2 separate regions of the Homo sapiens genome follow, and region 1 is linked to region 2. Evidence: promoter capture Hi-C in human tissues and cell types (Jung and others, 2019). All regions are on one chromosome and are shown on one strand. Each heading gives the region's core, a stretch centred on a gene start or on the middle of the fragment in contact. The rest is flanking DNA. Distances are from core to core; before and after follow the strand shown. Region 1 has its middle 140 kb from the start of MIR8054. Region 2 holds the start of CCDC179 (coiled-coil domain containing 179).

The links. Contacts are between HindIII fragments. The study calls those that stand out against the background at their distance.
Region 1: a contact is called between a fragment that was not itself captured here and the fragment with the promoter of CCDC179 in region 2, in 1 of the 25 tissues and cell types used here (mesendoderm cells).

Annotation. Positions count from the first base shown.
Region 1 is chr11:23,554,175-23,558,512 of GRCh38, forward strand. No RefSeq gene overlaps it. Among named protein-coding and RNA genes, the nearest start is that of MIR8054, 140 kb to the left of the region's middle. The HindIII fragment of the contact is 3,682 bases long and covers 37-3,718 here.
Region 2 is chr11:22,858,383-22,862,675 of GRCh38, forward strand. CCDC179 (coiled-coil domain containing 179) reads right to left here and starts at 2,092. Exons shown (of 4, transcript NM_001195637.2): 1 at 1,995-2,092; 2 at 1,070-1,114. The coding sequence starts at 2,039. The region is part of intron 3 of LINC02718 (long intergenic non-protein coding RNA 2718); the gene reads left to right. The HindIII fragment of the contact is 9,229 bases long and covers 1-4,293 here.

The DNA.
Region 1 (4,338 bases), core at 628-3,127, 700 kb after region 2:
AATGCTCTTCATATAAACTACAGCATAGATGGTGCCCTCTGGAGGTAGATAATGTGGCAAATTTAGTAACTTCAGACCAACAATAAAATAACTAAATGATATCCAGTTGATTAATTCATTCTATAAATATTATTGTTTACTGTTTACTGATATTCATTCTAGTTACTTGGAATAGCTCAATGAATAAAATAGGAATTTTTCAGTTTCATCAATTTTATAATTCATTAAGGTCTTTTTCTTTCTGACTGAACTATACCCTTTAGCATTTTTTATAGGGCAGTTCTGGTATTGATGAAACCTCTTAGCTTCTTTTTGTCTGGGAAAGCCTCTAGTTCTCCTTCAAGTTTGAAGAATATTTTTGCTGGATATATCATTATGGGATAAAAGTTATTTTATTTCAGTACTTTAAGTATGTCATGGCACTCTCTTCTGGCCTGTAAGGTTTCCACTGAAGTTTGTTACCAGACATATTGGAACTCCATTGAATGTTATTTGTTTCTTTTCTCTTGCTGGTTTTAGGATCCTTTCTTTATCCTTGACCTTTGGGAATTTGATTGTTAAGCCTTGAGGTAGTGTCCTCTGGGTTAAATGTTTGGTATTTTATGGCCTTATACTTGGATATTGATATCTTTCTCTAGGTTTGGAAAATTCTAGTCATTATCCCTTTGAGTAAACTTTCTACCCCTATCACATTCTCTACCTCCTCTTTAAGGCCAATAACTCTTATATTTGCCCTTTTGAGGCTATTTTCTAGATGCCATAAGCATGTTTCATTGCTTTTTACTCTTCTTACTTTTGTCTCCTCTGACTGTGCATTTTCAAAGAGCCTGCCTTCAAGTCCACTAATTGTTTCTTCTACTTGATTAATTCCATTACTGAAAGACTCTGATGCATTCTTCAGTATGCTTGTTGCATTTTTAGGTCCAGAATTTCTGCTTGATTCTTTTTAATTGTTTCATTCTCTTTGTTAAATTTATCTGATAGAATTCTGAATTTCCTCTCTGTATTATCTTGAATTTCTTTGAGTTTCCCCAAGACAGCTATTTTGAATTCTCTGTCTGAAAGGTCACATATTTCTGTTCCTTCAGGCTTTGTCCCTGGTGACTCATTTAGTTCATTTAATGAGATCATGTTTTCCTGGATTGTCTTGATAGTTGCAGATGTTCATCCGTGTCTTGGCATTAAAGAGTTAGGTATTTATAGTGGTCTTTGCAGTCTAGGCTTGTTTGTGTTCATCTTTCTTGGGGAGGCTTTCCAGATATTCTACATATTAAAAATTTGGGTCTTGTGATCTAAGCTGTAACTGCTTTAGGGAGCACCCCAATCCAAGTAACTCTGTGGTTCTTGCAGATTCATAGAGGTACCACCTTGACAGTCTTGGACAAGATCCAGGAGAATTCTCTGGATTACCAGGCAGAGACTTTTGTTCTCTTCCCTTACTTTCTCCCAAAGAAATTGAGTCTTTCTCTTTTCTCTAAGCCACCTGAACCTGGTGGTGGGGAGACATAAGCACCCTGGCAGCCACCACCAGTATTACTTCACTGGATCAGACCTGAAGCCAGCACAGCACTGAGTCTCACACAAGGCTTGCTCTAACTACTCCCTGGCTACTGTTTATGTTTGCTCAAGGCCTTGGGATTCTACAGTTAGCAGATGGCAAAGCCAGGTAGGTCTATGTCCTTCCTTTCAGTGTAGTGACTTCTTCCAGGCCCAGGCAGGTCTAGAGGTGCTTTCCAGGCACCAGAGACTAGATTTAAAACCTTAGAAGTCTACCATGGTGTCCTAGTATATTGTAGTTGAGCTGGCACTCAAAGCACTAGACAAAGTTCTTTTCATTCTTCCCTTTCTTCACCAAAGGCAGGGGAACCTCACTCTGTGGCCACTGCCACCACAGGCCCATGAGAAGTACTGTTAAACTACTGCCAATGTTCCCTTAAAGCACAAGGGCTCTTCAGTCAGTTTGTGGTGAATGCTGCCTGGCCTGGGACTCACCCTTTAGGGCACTGGGCTCCCTTCTGGCCCAGGGAAGGTCTAGAAATGCTGTCTAAGAGCCATGTCCTAGATTCTGAAAACCCAAGAGCCTGCTTTGTGCTCTACCTCCTTCTGACTGAGCCGGGACTTGAAGCCAGCAAGTCTCAAACTCTTACCAAAAGCTGATAACATAGTACCTGGGTATTGTTTCTGGTTATTCATAGCCTGAGGGCTCTTCAGTTAGCAAGTGAGGAATGCTGCTAGGACTGGGTTCTTTCCTTCAAAGTGGCAGCTTCCTTCTGGCCCAAAGTGTGTCTGGTATTGTTATTCAGGAGCTAGGGCCTGGAAATGGGGACTCAGAACTCTGAATGGAGCCCTATCTGGTTGTGGCTGAGCTGGTATCAAAGGCACGAGATAAAGTCCTCCTCACCCTTCTGTCTCTGCTGCTTAGGTCAAAGGAAGTGGTCTCTTTTGGAGCTGCAAATTGTGCTGCCTGGGGCTGGGGGAGGGATGATGCAAGCACTCCCTTAGCTGCCCCAGCTGGTGTCTCAGTGGGTCACATACTCCCTATTTCACTGTCTCTGGGTCCAGTTCCACACTAGAACTCATCTAGAAGTTACAGTCCTTGTGGCCTAGACTGCCTTTGGAGTTTATTTAGCGCCCTGGAACACTTTAGCCCATCATCATGGCAAGGCTTGCAGGAGCTATGAAGGTGTGCTTTTTTTGGTAGATAGTTTTTAAATTGGTGTCCTTGTTTGTGGGGACGGGTGGAGATGATCAGTGGAGGTTTCTCTTCCACTATCTTGCTCTACCTCCTAAATGTCATTTTAAAAACAGGTATTTGGTGAGTATCTTCAATTGCCATGCATATTTCTAGAAACCCTGGAACATGTCAAGAGAAATAAAGCATAGCTCTTTAACTTACAGAACTATGGTTGTATAGGAAATAAAACTGTTGAATATGCAACAAATAAGCTTATGAGGAATGCAGTAAAATATATCATTATATAATATTAGATAACTTCAAATAAAAATATTAGTTGAGACTAAAACTTTGGGTAAAATTCAATAAATGGGATTGCCTTGGGGTATAGCTAAAAGTATCAGGAAAATTTTAGTGAGTGTATATGGAGTTCTGCTATCTTGAATCACTAAGCACATGGAAAAGAAAAATAACATAAATATTAACATAAATTAAAAACCAAAAGTTAACAATTATCTCAAATACACAATTTGTATTTTTTGTTTTCCATTATCCCACCCAAACTTTATTAGTTTTTTATCCCCATTTTCTAGCATGAACAATGCCACTGCTATCTACCCGCTACTACCAATTCATAGAAATATGTGTGGCAATTGAAGGCATTTATCAAATATTTGTTTTAAAAATAACATCTGGAGACTTTTGAAATTATGAGAATCTTACTAATAAGCATCCTCTTGAAAAAGAATTTCATTATACCTATATATTACTTTTTTATTTTTAATAGTAAACTTTAGCTTTAAACTATATCCGAAACCACTATATTTGTTACTGTAAAATATGCTGGCCTAGCATCCATGTTTTTCCCTGAATAGCCTGTTGTCTATTCTTTTTTAAAGCACCTTCCTTATCCTCTCACTTAAATGATGACATTACCATCTACCCAGTTGTCCTCACTAGAAATATAAGCCTCGTACTCAATTCCTCATTTTCTTGCACCATTACTCATAACTCTTGTGAGTGTCTCCATCATGATTTCATACACTGGCCTTTCATTCAGTAAATTTTGGGTACAATATATGGCTAGTACCTTATCTGGGAGCCTAGAATTCCAAAGGAAATAACACAACAGACAAGGCCTTCATCCTCTAATCTTAGGAACACTGCCTCAATTTTGGCCCTCATCATCTTTCCTACTAATGTGTTTATTTGATGTCCTTTTCTCTGCTCTCTCTATCATAAAAATCTCTCCTACTAATATCAAAGTAATGGTGATCTATACAAAATATATATGTAAAAAATCATATATATACATATGATTTTATTAAAGATTTATTTTTTGGTTCCACATGAAAGAAACTCAATTTATACTAAAAATATCAAGTGTATTCTGGATTTTGGAGTGATGAATTCAGTCGCTACTAAGTCTTTCTCCAGCTTTTGGTTATGTTCACTGATCCATATACTAAATTCTCAGTGGAAAGCCCTAAGTTATTTTTATTTGCCTCTCAACCAATCACCATTGTCACCTGAGTGTAATATTTGGGCTTACAGGTATAGTTCACTTGCCTACTCTTGGATCAAAAATCCACAGATATCTTCTCCTGAACCATATCTCTAAAGGATAAGTGTAGTGCAATTATTATGCGAAAAAAGCAGAGTAG
Region 2 (4,293 bases), core at 842-3,341:
AACAATTATTCACTCCTTTGAAATGTTGCATGACACACATAGCTTTTTATGCCACCATTGTGTGGCGTCTACAAGTAGCAGATACCTAGGAGATCAAACTAGAATGCTTTTAAGATAATGAAATACAGTAATAGAATAGAAAGGATATGAATAACAATAACTTTTTTATCCACTTCCAGTGAAGTATCAATTGGTACAATTGCTTTGAAAACCAACTTTTTAAAAAATCCACTGATAACAGAATATAAACTTGAACAATTGCTTTGAAAACAGTGTGGCACTACTTTCTAACAATAAAAAATTTGCTTTTCCTATGATTCAACCATTACACTCCTGCCTAAATAATCAAATGGCATTCTTGTGCATGGGGCAAGAAGATGTGTACTAGAATGTTTGCAATAGTACTATTCATTTTAGGAAAATGTAAAAATAACACAATGTCCATAAACAAGAGAAAGGATTAATGAACTGTGATATGTTCCATGACAAAATATTGAACAGCAGTGAAAATAAAGAAACTATATACAGCAATGTAGATAAATCTTAGGAAATAATATTGAGAAAAAAGAGTAAATCATACACTAAATTTTGTGTGATCCTATGTTTATAAAGTTCAAAACCAAGCAAAAGCAAATAGTGCACTTATAGAGACACCTATGTAACAAACTATTAAAGAAGAGGAAGAGATTGATGTAGCTAAAATTCAAGATGGAGGTCACCTCTGGGAGAGACCTTAGGAGGTAGAATAGAAAAGCATTCCCTAGCTGGATTCAGAAATACCTAATATTTTAATCCTTAAATGGGAGGCATATTGTAATTTATAAATTATATCTGCCACATCTATTTTTGTATATGTGTCAAATGTTACATTAAAAAATAACATAAGCCATTTAGTTTACCCTAGTTAAGACCCATTCCAATAGTAGTCATTAGATCCCAGAGTCCCAAGAAATATACTGAAGTGTCTACTTAATACAAGTTCTATTATGTTAGGGACCACTACATAAAGGAACAAGTTACAAGCACAATGTTTAAACAACCAGAACCTAGTTCTTTATTTAAACATTACCTGCCGCTCAGTGACCTCTGAAGGATGATGTTGTCTTGGTCCTTCCTATATAATAAACAAAATTAAAACACATTCACACAAAAAAGTCATTAAAAACAGTAAATTAATTATTATAATAGGAAGCCTATGCTACTTTTAAATTTATGTATTATATGAATCATTTCAACTATAAGAAGCAGGTTAAAAAAACAAAAAGAAAAAAGTCAAGTTCAGAATAAAAACATCTAAGATAAAAATTGTGGTGGAAGATGGAGACGATATTATGATAAAAAAGAACCAGCTGTGAACCACCTTACAGATAAAAGGCAGAGTATAGAGATATATTCGGGAGGGAAAGAATGTACGAGAAATCGAAAAATGCATGTTTCTGCTTCTACAGGACTTCAGTGGTGCTATTGAGCAATCTAGTCTTCAATCTGGTTTCAAAGCCTAGGAGTAATTGGTGATGTGATTGAGATCGTATGGTTTTCTGAAGCACAGGGAGCTTGGCTGTTAGTTTTCGAGATTCTCACCACTTCCTCTATTTCTTGATTGTACCTTAAATAACTCCTCCTTCACTCGTTTTGATCCAATCTTTTAACCAGAAGACCCAAGAGCAATCTGTTCCACATCTGGCAATTGAGAACTTTATCCTGCTCCCTACTTCTGTAATTTCCACTCCACCTCCTAGGGCAGGCCAATGGGGCAGTCAACATACAGGTGATGTACCTGACCCCTAAGCACACAGTGGGTGGAGCTTTTTCTTGTTTCAGAGGGGTCCAGCAGTCAGGATGTAGTCTGTCTACATCACCTGGAATTTCCCAACCCCCAGCACCAAACCACATTTACAAGAGTTAGAAGCACCATGGCCAAGGCCACAGTGGCCTGGAGCTCAAGGCACAGGACAGAGTGGCAGAGTTGAGGTTGTAGGCCCCAGCAGACTCACAGGGTTGACTTGGGAAGGCTCGATGTCCCAGCAATACAGGCACATGCCGTGGAGCCTTAGGGCGCCCCCTGACGCCTACTGCCTGTCCTGGACCAAATGATTATGGGGCCCCACACCCACAGCCTTCAAGCCCTGCCCCACCCAGTTCCATCACTATTCTCTTTATTCTTCTCCCTGCTATGGGCCCCACCCTTTCCCCAGTTGTATTCCAGTCCAGTGCAGGGAAGGCAAGGCCTCAAGTTGTCTGCAGTGTCTTTGAGTTATGGAAGTCAGTTTACCATAATTCCTTATATCCTATCCTTCTTCCTCAGAAAATTGCAGAATACCAATTTCCCACCTTTTCTACCCTTCATCTCTCTAGTCTCTCTCTTTATAAAGCCCCTTTCATTTGTTAACATATCTAGCTTAGTCTCCATGTTCTCTTACTTCAGACTGTCTATCTATTGTTAGGGTTCTCAATTCCACCACCTCATTGTTGTTCCTTCACAGCTTCTAGTTGGGCTGACCCAACTGTCTGCCTTCTTCCCATCTATCTATACCAGATGAAGTGAGGAGAAGCTTGAAGATGGCTGGAATACATATTTGTGACCCCAGATCTATTTATTTATTTATTTTCTTTTTTCTTTTTTTTTTTGGCCAAGTCTCTCTGTCGCCCAGGCTGGAGTGCAGTGCTACAATCTTAGCTCACTGCTACCTCCACCTCACTGCTACCTACACCTCGAGGGTTCAAGCAATTCTCCCATCTCAGCCTCCCGAGTAGCTGGGACTGCAGGCGCATGCCACAATGCCTGGCTAATGATTTTGTAGTTTTAGTAGAGACAGGGTTTTACCATATTGGAGGCTGTTCTCAAACTCCTGACCTCAGGTGATCCACCCGTCTTGCCCTCCCAAAGTGCTGAAATTACAGGCGTGAGCCACCAGGCCCGGCCGTGACCCCCAATTTAAACTGGGTCCTCAAAGCTGCTTAAGACTTTTATGTTGCACCAGCTTTTTTTGTGCTCTGCAGTATTCCCTTCAAATTGTCTTCTATTAAAATCTCTGAATCCACCAACACTCAGGCACTTCCAGTAGAAGTGGGACAATCCGTGCTTCACACTCTGATGCTGGTGAACATGTATAGAGCTTACTATGCTCAGCACTGTTACATGAATTTATATGTGTTAACTGATCAAGTCTTTAGACCACTCAAGGTGGGTAAGGGCATGATTATAATCACTGGGAAACAAGGCGCTAGCATGTTAAATTGCTTTCTTGAAGTTACGCTATTAGTAAGAGGGTGAGCTGGAATTTAAATCCAGGGTTGGCCCTTAGATCATGTGCTCCTAATTATGTGCTATGCTACCATTGCTTTTGAAGCCCTCACTGGGGCTACCTCAATACCACCTAAAATCCTATAACCTTGTCAATATCCACATTATCCTTTTCCCTGTAACCCTGTCGAAATGGAAAAAAAAATTGGTATCCCTTCTGTTGCCTCAAATAAATCTATCCATTTGCATTTGCATGCCATTTCCCTCCTAGGAGCCTCCTCAGATCTAGCTCTACAGATTGTTCCTCTCCTTGTTAACTTCTCTATATTGCCTCTTTCCTTTAAACATTTCATTACTGTAAGTTCAAATCTCCCCCTCTCCAAACTAATAAAGGAAACTCCTTAGAACAACAACCAATTGTATCTATTGCCCATCCCCTCTATATAAAGTAAATATTCATGAGAGTGGTCTGTACCTCTGCCTCTTCTTTATGTTCAGTGTAAGATTTGGCTTACTGAAACCTGTTTCAACTCCCACTGTTCCACTGGTGCTTTTCTCAAAATGGTTAATCAAATGATCTTTCTCCTGAATTCAATGGACAGTTTCTATCATATGATTTTTGTATCACGTTAGAAACTGCTGAAAAGTCTTTCTGATGAGTTAGGCTTAGAAAAAGTAAACAGTTTTGCCCAACTGTAATGTTCAAAATCATTATCCATGCTCTTCTTGAAACTCCCCTCTGGGAGCAATAAGTTGTAGAAAAATCATATAAACTTCCCCATTATCACAAACCAGGAATTGACTTGACACACTATAGAAAATGTTTTGAATGCTACTGTCACATATCATGCCAAGTCCTATGCATACAAAATGAATAAATTATTGCCCTCAAAGGCAGTCAGATAGATTAGCAAAAACAAAAAGGTAGAAAATGTATAGTGAGCTTCAATAATAATACATGTTGTGTTGTACAGACATTTGGGAGCCCCTAATGCTCTCTGAAGACAGGCCCAAATAGCCTTCTCAGTGGAGTGGAGTAGCCAGAGTTT